Linked DNA regions of Homo sapiens: region 2 is linked to region 1. The links are contacts of gene promoters, found by promoter capture Hi-C in human tissues and cell types (Jung and others, 2019). All regions are on one chromosome and are shown on one strand. Each heading gives the region's core, a stretch centred on a gene start or on the middle of the fragment in contact. The rest is flanking DNA. Distances are from core to core; before and after follow the strand shown.

Region 1 (6,218 bases), core at 815-3,314:
CCTTCTGCGGACCCCTCGCTTTCCTCTTATTAGATACCCAATCCTGGACATCCCAGGCTCTGTTAAAATAAGGCAAAAATTTCCCAGAGAAATTTTGTCAAACACCGGTCATGAAGAGAAATACAAAACGGCAGGGAGTTGCGGGGTGAGTTCCTATCAAATCAGTTCCCCAAGGCTGCTTGTACAGACACCCGTCATCCTCCGCCTGGAGCGTGCACCCTACCCAACGCCAGGTTCTGATCTGAACCATGGAGCCAGAGAAGAGGAAAGGATTTTCCAAATCTGGCTCTAGTAGGGACCGCGGGAGGGAGGGAAGTCGGGGAGATGGTGGGAACCTGTCCCCCGCCTTTTCTTTGCTTGGCTGCACAGCGCTGGGTGCCGGCGAGGTAGGGGGAGCCCCTCCGGGCACGCGCTGCGGGCCGCTGCAGCTGCCAGGCAGGCGCGATGCTCAGTCGGGCGCCCAGTTCGGAATGCCGGAGTAGGCCAGACCGGGCTCAACGACGCCACCTCTCGGTACATCCTTGTCCAGGAGAACCCGGTGGCGGGGAAAAGCGGGTGGAGAGGTGTGCAGGAAGCTCAGGCACCCAACTCCGCTCAGGGAGCCGTTTGTGGCGCAGGACGCAATGGTGAAGTCGAGAGTTTTCTGCTGAGCGACTTCCGTGTGCCTGTGCGTGCGTGAGGGCGAGCGGTGTGGCATGAGCGCTGGATGGGTGTGGAATTTCGCTTCACGCTTTAAACTTTTTTTTACGGCCTCTGCTACGGCTTTCCAGGGCCGCTCCCTGGACTTTGAAGGAGGAACCGGGGTTACCTGAAGGCCAAGGCTGGGGGCCGACTTGGCCGAGCCTCCCTCTTGGGCTGGAGGACTGCGCGCCTGGAGCGGATAGCAGCGACCCCGAGGCGAGCAGGAGGCTGGGAGTCCGAATGGCCTTCCGGGTTCCCTTTCGCGTGACGGGAGGGGGGGTGGGGGTGGGGTGGGGGTAGGGGGAGCCCGGCAGCCGCAGGAATCGGTCTGTTCAGCGGCTCCCGCCCCAAGTCAGCCCTTTTTCTCATCCAAGAATTCAAGCACCCCGCAAACAGGAAAACTGACCCTCCAAGCCAAGTATTGGAGAAAGTGAGCACAGATCCCTCCCCCACTCATCTTTAAGAAGCCCCTTCCTCCACTCCCCTCCCGGCGGCCGAAGCCTAGGGTCTCCAGTAAACAAACACACACAGCGTCTAACAACAAACTCCGTTAACCTGTTGGGGGCGTGGGGGGAATCGGACAAACCTGTTATCTCGAAAAGTCGAGGCGTCCCCCGCCTCGACCCCCGAGCAACTATCTGTCCCTCGCTCCCACCCACCCCCCCATTCCCCTTCGGTGTCAGGAAACAGGCGGACCCGCCGCCGGGTGGGTACTCACGCTGCTGTTGTGTCCCGACCAGTGCACCATGGCTTGGTTGTGGGCCGAGTCCCCGGTCAGCGCGAAGGAGGTGCTGGGCAGCCGGAGGTCTTCAGCCGCCGACCCCCCAGCCCGCGGCGCCTTCACCTCCTCCCGGGAACCCTTAGCAAGGGGACGGCTTCCTCTGGAACCATCGGCCGGAGCAGTGGCCCAGGCGTCCCCGCGTTCCTGGGTGATTGGGGGCTGCGCCCGGCGACTCCTCCTCGCGCCGCCAAGCTTGGCAGGAGCTGGGATGCCCCGGCCCCGCCGCTCGCCTGCCGGTGATGTCCCTCCGGCTTCCACCTGCATCTCACCGCCTCTGCCGCCGCCCTGCTGGGGCAGCAGCTCTGGTCCGGCCCGGCGCCCCAGCACGGCGGCTCTCCGCGCCGACGCCAGCTCCTCCGGCCACTGGCTGGCCACTGCCCGCGGCGAGAGTGGAGACAACGCCGGTGGCCGCGAAGCCGGGGCCGCCGGGCGTCCGGGACCGCCTGTCGCGTCCCAAGTGATCTCGGCGCCGGCCAGGACCCACGTCGACAAGAGTAGGAGCCCCGTCCGGACAAGCGGCGCCCCCGGCCTGCCTGCGGGGCGCTCCGTGCGCGCCGCCTCCATCCCGCTGCGGCTACCGCGGCTCGGGCTGCCGAGTGTGTGGCGCCCGCCGAGGTGCGGGTCCGGCGCGGGGGGTGTGCGCGCGCCGGCGAGCGAGCGAGCGTGTGTGTGTAGGGGGAGTGGGGAGGGGGCGGCCGGGAAGGAGGTGGCTCCGGCTGGCGCGCCTCGCCGGTCCTCTCCACTCTTCCCTCCTAGCTCCCGCTCGCCCGTTCTCTTGTCCAGAGGGTGATTCCAAACCCGAGGAAAATTAATAATTGCCCCTTCGGTGCTTTCTTTCTTAAAATCAGATTCCCCCCAATCCTCCCCACTGAGCTCCTCCAGAAATTTGGTAAAAAGGAGTAATCAAAGGTAATAAGAAAATCTTCTTAAAATATGAAAATCAAGCCGGATCCAGGAGGGGCCGGCAATAGACCCCAATCCCGAGTCTCTCCGAAATCCAGCCTCCAACGTGCTCCCGGCGAAGAGTTGGGAGCCGCTTCTGGACGCGTTTGGGGGTTTACTCTTCGGGCCTGTTATGAGGGGCGGGAGATGGCGCGCGGGGAGGGTACAGGGGTCTCGGGGGAGAAGGAGGAGGAGTTGTGTGCTCAACGCCAACTGTTCGCGTTCTAGAGCCGAGAGGGAGCCAGGTGCCTCCGCGCGGGGAGGCTGCGCACGGAAGCCAAGCGCGGGATGCACCCTGGACTCTGCTCGCCGCTCCCTGGCCCGGCCGGCTCCCGGCCAAACCCCGCCACCCAAGGCCTGCGCCCCCGCGCGGGGGCGTGGGGAATGCGTGCGTGCGCGTGCGTGCGCGCAGGCAGGCGGGCGTGAGGCGAGGGGTTCGCAGGGGGCCGGCGGGCAGACCGGGCGCTGCCGCGTGGGGGCACCTGGCTGAGCCGGGCCGGGAGCGCGGCTGGGTGTGAGGGGGCGCGCGGTTCCGTGCGTGCGCGTTTGCACGAGCATGTGTGCACGTTAGTGTGAGCGATGGCAAGTGGGGCGGGGGCGGGAGGTGTGCGCTCGGCTTTTGGTCGCGTGCGGATCACGCACGGGCTGTGTTTGCATTTCCAGGAGCCTGCGAGTGGTCAAAGAGGCAATGCTGAGAACTAGGCAGGCCGCTCTCGGCAGCCCCCTCCTCTTGGCGCCCCGAGCACCCACGGCCCCCACTACAAGCGGTTAGAACCTGATAAAGCCTCCTAGGGGATGAGGGAAAAGAGGCGGAAGGCCCCGGTGGGATCGGGGACTTGCCAGATCTTCTCGGTTGAGGGATTCTCCTTGCCCCGACCTCCCGGCCAGAGGTGGGGCGAGAGAGTAGTCGAGATGTCTGTTCTTCCAGGGAGGATCCAGACCTCATTTTGCTGCCTAGGATTTTGAGGTCGTGCCCTCACTCTCCCCAGTCCGTTTCTGAACGGACTCAATTGTTTCAAAGTGTCGGCCGCCAGTTAAGAGGGTACTCAGGCGGGAGCCGCGTGGGCTTATCTGGTCCCCAATCCGCTACTGCAGGAGTGTAGCCTGCGCGCTTGGTGCAGCTGAGATCCTTCGTGACCGTAGGAAGAAGGAGACTTCAGGTGGGCTGAAGGGAAATGAGCTAAACCCACAGACGACCTCGAGCTGCGGTTTACAGGCCCCAGGACATGTGGTGTAGCTCGCCGCCTCCGAGAAGCCCCTGGGATTCTAGGGGTTGAAAAGTCTGAGACTAGAGGAGCTAGAGGAGGAGCTATTAAGAAAGGAGGAGGCAGGAGGGAGGAGGCTTAGGGAGAGAGAGACAGCCTCCAGCCCTGCTCCTCCCCTTCGGGAGTAGATAGAGTTCCTCCTCTCTAGAAGATGGTTAAAGTGGAGCGAGAGGGAGGGGAATGCGCGGAGAGGAAAGAAAGGTGAGAGGAAGGAATGAAGGAGAAAATAGAGGGAAAAGGGGAGAGAGGAAAGACAAGATGAAGGAGAAAAGGGGCGAGAGAATGGTGCAAAAGGAAGAGGGAGATAGAAGAGGAGGCGAAAGGGCGCCAGGTAAGAGCCAAGAGGGATGGAGGAGGCAGAAGAGGCGACTGAGAATCTAAGCTGGCCAAGGAAGAAGACATCCAGCGATTCCCGAGAGCCCCCGCCCTCTTGAACTTGCCTTTCCACCCGGTGCCAAAATGGCAATTAGCAGCGGGGGAGGCTGGGCCAAAGAACCAAGCCAGCGACAACGTCCGGCCCAGAATGGTGCGGGTCCTGGCATCTGTGGGTTTCCAAAGACAGGGAGTAGCGGGTATTCCTAAGAAAAGTTCCAGCGCCGCAGGCCCAGGTGGGCGCGGGATCGGGCGCTGGACGAGAGCCGGCCATCCGCGAGTTCCCAGCGCCCCTGCCGGAGGAGGCCCGGCGCTGCAGCCCGAGCCGAAGCTCGGGGTTCGGGAGGGACGCGGTGCTGCTCTTCTCTTCAGGCTCTGGGCGGAGGTGCCACAGTATAAGAGATCTGGGCGGACCCGAGGCTCACACAGCCCGGAGGAGTGTGGTCTCCCAAGTCCTATGCGCACTGGGGAGGTGCACCATCCAGTCCCCGCAGCTTCCCGCGGCCTCTGAGCAGGAGCAGTCGGGTGCAAAAGAGGCAGACGCTCTGAGAGGGGCCTCCTTCTGTCTCTCCTGTCTGAAGAAGGCCCTACCAGATGGAACCCGGGCAGAGTTGGATCCTTGGGATGGGCTTGAGGAGATGTAGCTTAAAAGCTTTTGTTTGAAAACAAACAAAAAAGGAAAGACTCCCGCAAGTGTGACATTTTCACATGCCTCCTGCACCAGTTCGTTTTCTTGGCCTTGCTCCCATCAATTACAGTCTTCTTCCACCTGCAGCCTCTCCCTCCTTCACCCTTTGCCTGAAAATCCTTGCCCTCAGCCCTGAGCTGCCCCTGCCCCCACCCCCAGCCCCCTGCCTCCAACCCCCTGCTTCCGAGTCCCCATTAGCCTTCTCTAGTGCCCAAACTTCTCCCAGTAGTTCTCACCTGAACCCACAGTATCCTCTTCCTCACTCCTGGACTTTTTGCAATTTGACATCTGCTTTTAGGCGACTCAGTCAAAGGCCTACCCCAACACGCCTGACAGCCTCACTCAACAACCTCTTCTTCCCGCATGTGTAAACTTGTCCCATCTGAAAAGGTCTCCTTTGATCTACATGGTACTAGGATCTTCTGGGTCCTCCCTGGCCAGCCTCAGTCAAGCTTGTCCTCTTTTATCCACATCTTAAATTCTGAGCCCCAGCCTCCATCATTTTCCCCAATTCTCCGTGCTTGGCTCTCATTCTGTTTTCCCTTTCTCCTTGTCTGAATGAGCCCGGAGATCAGGCCCATTTCTGTCCTTCTACTACCATTTCCTGGTGTTGACTCCTGGATCTACAACTTCACCACATCCCCTCTTGAGCTTCACACCTGACTTCCTCATTGCTTCATACGTGTTATGTGTTCACCTTGAAACCCATATGCAGCAAAACCTAAAACCATCACCCCAACATCTTCTTAGTCACCTAGACTAGACACTTGACTTGCAAGCTTGACTCCCTCTTTTGGATCCCCACACCCATAACTTGTCTCGTCCTATTTTAAAAAGCCTTTTTTTTTTTTTTTACCACTCCTCTCCTGTTCATTCCTAGAGTCACTGCCTTATATCTGACCCTCAACATCTCTTGCCTAAGGTTTTGCAATAGTTTCCTCTCTTCTCCTGGTCTTCGGTTCTTTCCTTCTCCTAGCCAGCCTCCACACTGGCACCTTCAAATAGAAATGTAATGTAAGCCACACAGGAAATTTTAAACTTTCTAGTAGCTTTATTGAAATAAAAAGGAACCAATGAAATTAACTTTAATTTTTATTGAACTGAAGATACCAAAAATAGTTTCAATTTGTAATCAACATAAAAATTATTGATGTATTTTTACATATTTTTGTACCAAGTCTTCAAAATCCAGTGTGTATTTTATACTTACAGCACATTTCCGTTCAGACCACCCACATTTTTTCACTACCACATTTCATAACCACATGTGACTAGTGGCTACTGTTTTAAACAACACAGCTCCACACTGTTGACAGAAATAGCCTCTTAAAACATAAGGAAGATTATATCATGAATTGCCCTCCTCAAAATTTTTCAATGACCTACCATTTTTATAAAATCCAAACTTCTTAGAATGGTATCCAAAGCTCCATGTACTTGCCCCACCTCCATGAACTTTCTTACTGTATTCCTTAAGCCTGGAATGTGT
Region 2 (6,146 bases), core at 2,078-4,577, 140 kb before region 1:
CAAAAGGCCAGGACAACCATAAATACCCAAATCAGGCCTGATGAGCAGCAGCAGGATATGGGGGCACCTGCCCATCTTATGCTGTTACATTATGGAATCCAAGAAAGGATAACTGTTATCTGGTAATTAGCAAGGCACAATGATACAGTAAATATACTTAATATACTTTACACTTGCAGCTTTCTATTATCATTTTTTGTTTGTTCTGTGTGGTTTTGTTTCTTGAAAAGTGTGTGTGTGTACACATATTTGTGTGTGTTTTCTCCAGGAGTCAACATGCTCTACTAACACATCAGCTAGCAGATGGTTCAAGGCTAATCCTCCACAAACCCACTGCCCCTGAAATGGCCAGAATAAAACTGAACCTACCTCATGCACTCAACCTCTGTGAGAATCAAAGGAGGTGATTGATGTGAAAAGACTTTGAAACCATAGAGCACTGTGACACACATACCACATACAAATACATAACATTCTGTGATGCTAGCAGCTGTGGTGGGGTGGGACAAGTCCTGGCCATGGCATCACAAGGGGCTCCAATCCCAGCCCTTCTACCTACAAGCTATATGACATAAACAAGCTCCTTAACTTCTCTGGCTTCAGATGACTTGCTGTCAACTGTTGTAAAGATCAAATGAGTTGCAAAGGTGAGATCTGAGCTATAAAGCGTTCTGCAGATGTCAGATATCAGCATTACTACTACACCTGCCTACAGAGTTGTCTATCATCTAATCACCAGTGATTTTCCTCATTTTCTGTGCAAAACACATCCATACTGGTATGACAATACTTTCCATCTATTACCACCAGTAGCCAATAAAGCAATATAATGCATCTTATAAAAATATGACTCTCTGATATTAGAGAATATTATTCCTAGCTGTGCTGGAAATAGTAATAATAACAATATTCTACAGTTAGTACCTATGTGTTATTAGTCTTTCCCTAAGAAGATGGTAAACTTCTCAGGAGAGATTTTCTCTGACACTTCCATGTCCCCTGAAAGAAGAGGATCATCTGGCAGACACTAAACAAATATTTGATGATTGTCAGAAGACACAGGCAATTCCCAGTTGTGAACAACTCTAGGGCTGGTCTCCCTCTAAAGGTAATTGGTTTCAGAGCCATAATTCAGCATATTCTAGCAGAAATGGTCCTTATCTCCCATCCCACCCAGAGATCTGGTTTCATACCTCAGCAGCTCACAAAAGGAGCATCTGCTTTTGGAGCAGAGGCCCCTGCAGATCCAAACAGGGGCAATAACCAGAACTGACCTGTTCATCTAACAAAGCAGCCCATTTGGAAGAGTGAACAGCTACCAAGGGGTCATGATGCCAGACCAGGTGGGCTCATATGTCACCAAAGTCTGGGCCAGGGGGCCGAGTATGCGTGGTTCAGTGTAGGAGAGGGGTAAGGGAAAGCTGAAGGCTGTGTCTAAGGTTTATTAATAGCTTCCCTTTCCACCTCCCTTCCTCTTCACTTTCTCATCTCAGGGTGACCTCCACAAGTCACACCACAAGAGAACATTTATTATTATTATAATTACAGTGATCATATTGGTATGTATGCTCACAGATGCCGCTGAACGTGTGGCGTGCTAGTTCTCCTGCATTTCCAATTCACAGTGTCTTGAAGCCAAAAATACTCTGCCATCAAATTGCTCCGTTGTGGCTTAAAAAAAAAAAAACTGCCTCCTCTCAGGGCAATTCTTCCCAATCCTTCACAAGTGCAGCCAATTCGATTATTTGTACCACCCGTCACCCCTACTCCTGCCCCGCTGCCCCACCTTCCACCTCCCTTCCCCTCCCCATAAGCAAAATAGCAATGTGCATGGCTAATTCACATGTCAAGCCTCCCTCGGATGAATGACAGGTTAATGATGTGCACGTCTCCTTAAATAATTCATACTTCTAATAACCACGTTACTCAGCACTGACATACACCGCCCTCACCAATCAACATGGCGGAGCGCGCGGGGTGAGGCAGGGCAGAGTAGAGACTTGCGTGGTTAGTGGAGATGGGGAATGAAGAGGCCCTCACCTGCCATCCTCATAGTCACCGGGAGGTACAGGCAGCTCTGGGAATATGTTGATCAGCAGCAGAAGCCACTGCACCACGTGGAAAAGGAGAGGGCAGGAGACCAGGTGCAGGATCAACATCTAAGGGGCCAATGGATCACTGGGCAGGAGAGAAGTCATTGTTTCCAGGGCACCAAGCTGTCTTTACAAGGCATGAACTGCATACTTCAGGGGCCGGCAGCCTTCACACTTCCTCCGTGGAGTCCCCCTGGATGTCCACACTGCAAGTCCTGGTGTGGAAGATCTTCTTACTCTCAACATTTTCTCTCGTATATTTTCATTTGTTCCTTGCTGCAAATTCCCTGGCCTTTTTCAGTTGTGTGTACGTGTCCTCTCATCAGTCAGGTGGTAGGTGTCCAACTTCCTTGTGTCACTCTGCAATGCCTGGCACAGAGCTCAGCATCTCTGGATATGAGGCCAGAGGAAGAGTATTCCTTTCCTACGGCTGCTACAACAAAAGACCACAGCATGGAGCTTAAAGACAACGCAACCTTATTTTCTTCCAGTTCTAGAAGTCAAAAGTCCAGAATGGGTCTTGCAGAGAACTAACATCGAGATGTCAGCAAGGCTGGCTCTGTCTGGAGGCTCCAGGGAAGCATTCCTTTCTTTGCCTATTCTCAATTCTGGAGGCTGGTGACATTCCTTGACTCATGATTCCTTCCTTGTGCCACCCAATGACTGGCTTCCATTGTTAAATCTTCTGTCTCCTCTCATCACTTGCCTCCCCTTATGAAGAACCCTGTGATTAGATCAGGCCCACACAGATAATCCAAAATGATCCCCCCTCAAGATCCTTGGCTTAATCATGTATGCAAAGTCCCTTTTGCCACATAGGGTAACATCCACAGGAAGTCCCTTTTGCCACATAGGGTAACATCCACAGGTTCCAGGAGTGGAGATGTGGACCTTTTGCAGGTCCACATCTGTAAGGCCAGTAATGCCTGGAGATGTGCATTACTCAGCCTACCACAGGCCAAGTACCTACAATATGCCCCAGCTATAAAACAAGGTTGCTGTGAAGCTAAGGAGAAAAGATATTATAAAAGCATTTAACACGGTGCCTGGGATATTAGTGGTTGACGACCGTTGGGTCTCATTATTATTGTTAACTTAACACACTACCAGACTCATCTGACAGGAATGAACACCTACTGCCAACCAGGAACTGAGCTGGTGCTTTGATGCATGTTATCTCATTGTATGCTCACTGCAAACCATGAAGTGGATGTGATCATTCCTCTTTGAGAATGAGACAATGCAGGCTGGAAGAATAAGTGACTTGCCCAAGGTCACACAGTTGATAAATGACAGAGCTGACATTAAAATCCAGATTTATCTGAATAGGCAAATAACAAATGTTCAACCAACACTGCACCTGAATCCATTATTTCCCCAAATAGGCCCAATGTCAGAAGCACCTTTGAAGCAGAGTAACAATACCAATTCCCAGGCCCACCCCTGGAGATGCATGTATGGAACCGGGCCTAGAATTTGTTAATTGGTATAGAATGGTTGTACAAACTTTGAGGGTACATATGACATCTTGATACATGTATACAATGATCAAATCAGGGTAATTGGGATATCCATCGTCTAAGACATTTGTCCTTTTGTGTTGGCAACACTCCAATTCTTCTCTTCTAGCTACTTTGAAATATACCATATATTACTGTTAACTATAATTTCCCTGTTGTACAAATGCTAGATCTTATTCCTTCTATCTAACTGTATTTTCATACTCAATAATGAGCTTACCTTCAACCCTCCCTCCCCTAGCCCTTCCCAGTCTCTGGTAACCACCATTTCACTCTCTACCTCTATGAGATATAATCTCACCCCAGTAAAAATTGATACTTTTTTAACAAGCTATCTGTATAACTCAAATGCGTGGGCAAGTTTGTAAAACAGGAACCTAATCCATCACCCTTAAAATGATATCAGTACCCTCACTGCAGTCCCACTGAGCCCTAATCTCTTTCAAATACACTACCCCCGACACACACTCACACACAAAATCAGGCAGTTTTGCAACAGCAGCATTATTGGCATTTAGGGGCTGATAACTTTGTTGTGAGGGTTGTCCTGTGCATTGCAGGATGTGCAGCAGCATCCCTGGCCTCTAACCACTAGATGCCAGTAGCACTCTCCCCCCAGTTGTGACAAATGTCTTCAGACATTTCTGAATATCCCCTGCAAGGCAAAATTTGCCCCTGGTGAAAAACCACCCAGATGGGAGGTAGGAAAGAATAGGTTGCGAGGGCAAAGGCATTGCCTGCTGCAGTCCCAGTCTTTGCTCTGCTCACACCCCTCACTGAGCTACAGCAGGTTGGAATGGGGCAGTGGGAAGTGCACAGCCTGGGAATTAAGCATGTTGGGGTCTCATCCCCCTTGCCTGCAGCTCAGTGTGTAACTGTGCAGCTACCCCCGGAGGACAGCCAGGTTCTCATTCACTCATGCACTTGTCAGTAAACTGTGAGCAGGGTCTGAATTTCCCTTGTCTGGGTATCGGTTTCCTTATTTGCAAAATGATGACATTAAACAGGAATATCTTCAGAGTCACCTCAAGTTCCAGGTTCACTATTTTCCAGCCAACTCTCCCAACTATGAGAAGGTGAGGCCAAAAGGATGCTTAATTCTGGGGTCCCAGAAGGAGGGAATAGCCACAGATACCTGCAGCGCAAGAGGTACCACTGTGACCTGGGCATGTAGGATGCCCCCAAAGCCTCCACCCCCCACCACCCCCATCTCCCTCACTCTAGAAGCAACTGTATCTCCCCCTTATGTACCTTTTTTGTTCTCTCTGCCTGTCTGCCTGTCATCACATAACAAAGTAAAACTATGAGGGGCTTTGTGAGGTTTTTTTTTTTTTTTCCCTGCTGCTGAATAAGCTTGGGTACTTGTATTTTTATTAAAGCTGATACCGTTAGTGAAGATAATACAGAAAAGTTCTCTGAGTATTACAATTTTTCCTGACCCAGGTTCTTGGAGAAGGATGAGCTGATACAGCGATCTTGGGTAAAAGACTAAAGAAAAGGCTGTGGGTGGCTCTCGGAGGGGGCCATGCAGTATGTCTGGATTCTGGACTGCCCTTTAAGAAAAGATAAATAGACAATCTTCCTTGCAAACTATATATTTGATGTAATTATTTGGCAAGGGTGCTCTACACAGAACAGACATTTAATTCCATTTGAAATTAATGGTATTTCACTAGCAGAGTGTGACCTGAAAAAGAAATTTTTTAAAGCCAACAACAAAAACACCCAAATATTAAGCATAAATGTCTTGTCCCATTTTCCAAAGGCAAATGTAATTGACTTTTAGATGAGGGCTTCCCGCCAGCCCCGACTACCCTTGCAATGTCTGGCAACATTTGAGCTGGCCTAGCAGAAAGAACTCAAAATACACATAAGAATTCCCCAACCTTGGGGAGCTTTAGGGAATAGCTCTGTGACCTGAAGGGAGATGTTAGTAAATAGCTCAGAGCTTGCTTCTTCCAGAAAACCTCCCCAGACCACCATGGACCCACAGAAACTCTTTCTGTAGATATCTTCATACAACCACATGTTCCTCACCTCCAGGTGGAATATTAGTACCTTTCACCTCCCTCCCCCTGCCCAGTGTACCCTCTCCCAGCGTCCTTAGCACCTATAATACTTTGCTGAGTATACTTGCCTACATGTCTGTCTCCCCAGTCACACTGGAATCTTCCAGAGGCAAATACCAGGTTCATTCACTTCTAGACCCTTAGTGCTCAACACCAACAAGTGTTCAATTTCTGCCTCTTTAATAAAAGAATAGGAAAGAAATATGGGCAGGAGGGAAAAGTTCACATCATCAAGCACTTGCCAGGGGTCAGATGTAGCTATGCCTCTCTGCTTCTACCTTCTTGCTATTCAAGTAAGCATGCTTTGTCTTCCAGAAAAGCAAGAAACCCCTGGCTTTCAAGGGCTGTTTCTTCTAAGCTTTAGAATCCCACCCCCATGGTGTGAGTCCAGCTCTAGAAACATAAATGCCAATGATGTTCTGTCTGGAGAATTTCAACTATGGTGCTGCCAAGAGGGACTGTCT

The links. The method cuts DNA at HindIII sites, captures the fragments that hold promoters and counts their contacts. A contact is called where the count stands out against the background at its distance.
Region 2: a fragment that was not itself captured here is called in contact with the fragment with the promoter of SORCS3 in region 1 in 1 of the 25 tissues and cell types used here (spleen).

What each region holds. Positions count from the first base shown.
Region 1 is chr10:104,637,136-104,643,353 of GRCh38, reverse strand. SORCS3 (sortilin related VPS10 domain containing receptor 3) reads right to left here and starts at 2,064. Exons shown (of 27, transcript NM_014978.3): 1 at 1,400-2,064. The coding sequence starts at 2,026. The HindIII fragment of the contact is 5,425 bases long and covers 1-4,937 here.
Region 2 is chr10:104,775,679-104,781,824 of GRCh38, reverse strand. The region is part of intron 1 of SORCS3 (sortilin related VPS10 domain containing receptor 3); the gene reads right to left. Among named protein-coding and RNA genes, the nearest start is that of SORCS3-AS1, 110 kb to the right of the region's middle. The HindIII fragment of the contact is 4,352 bases long and covers 1,152-5,503 here.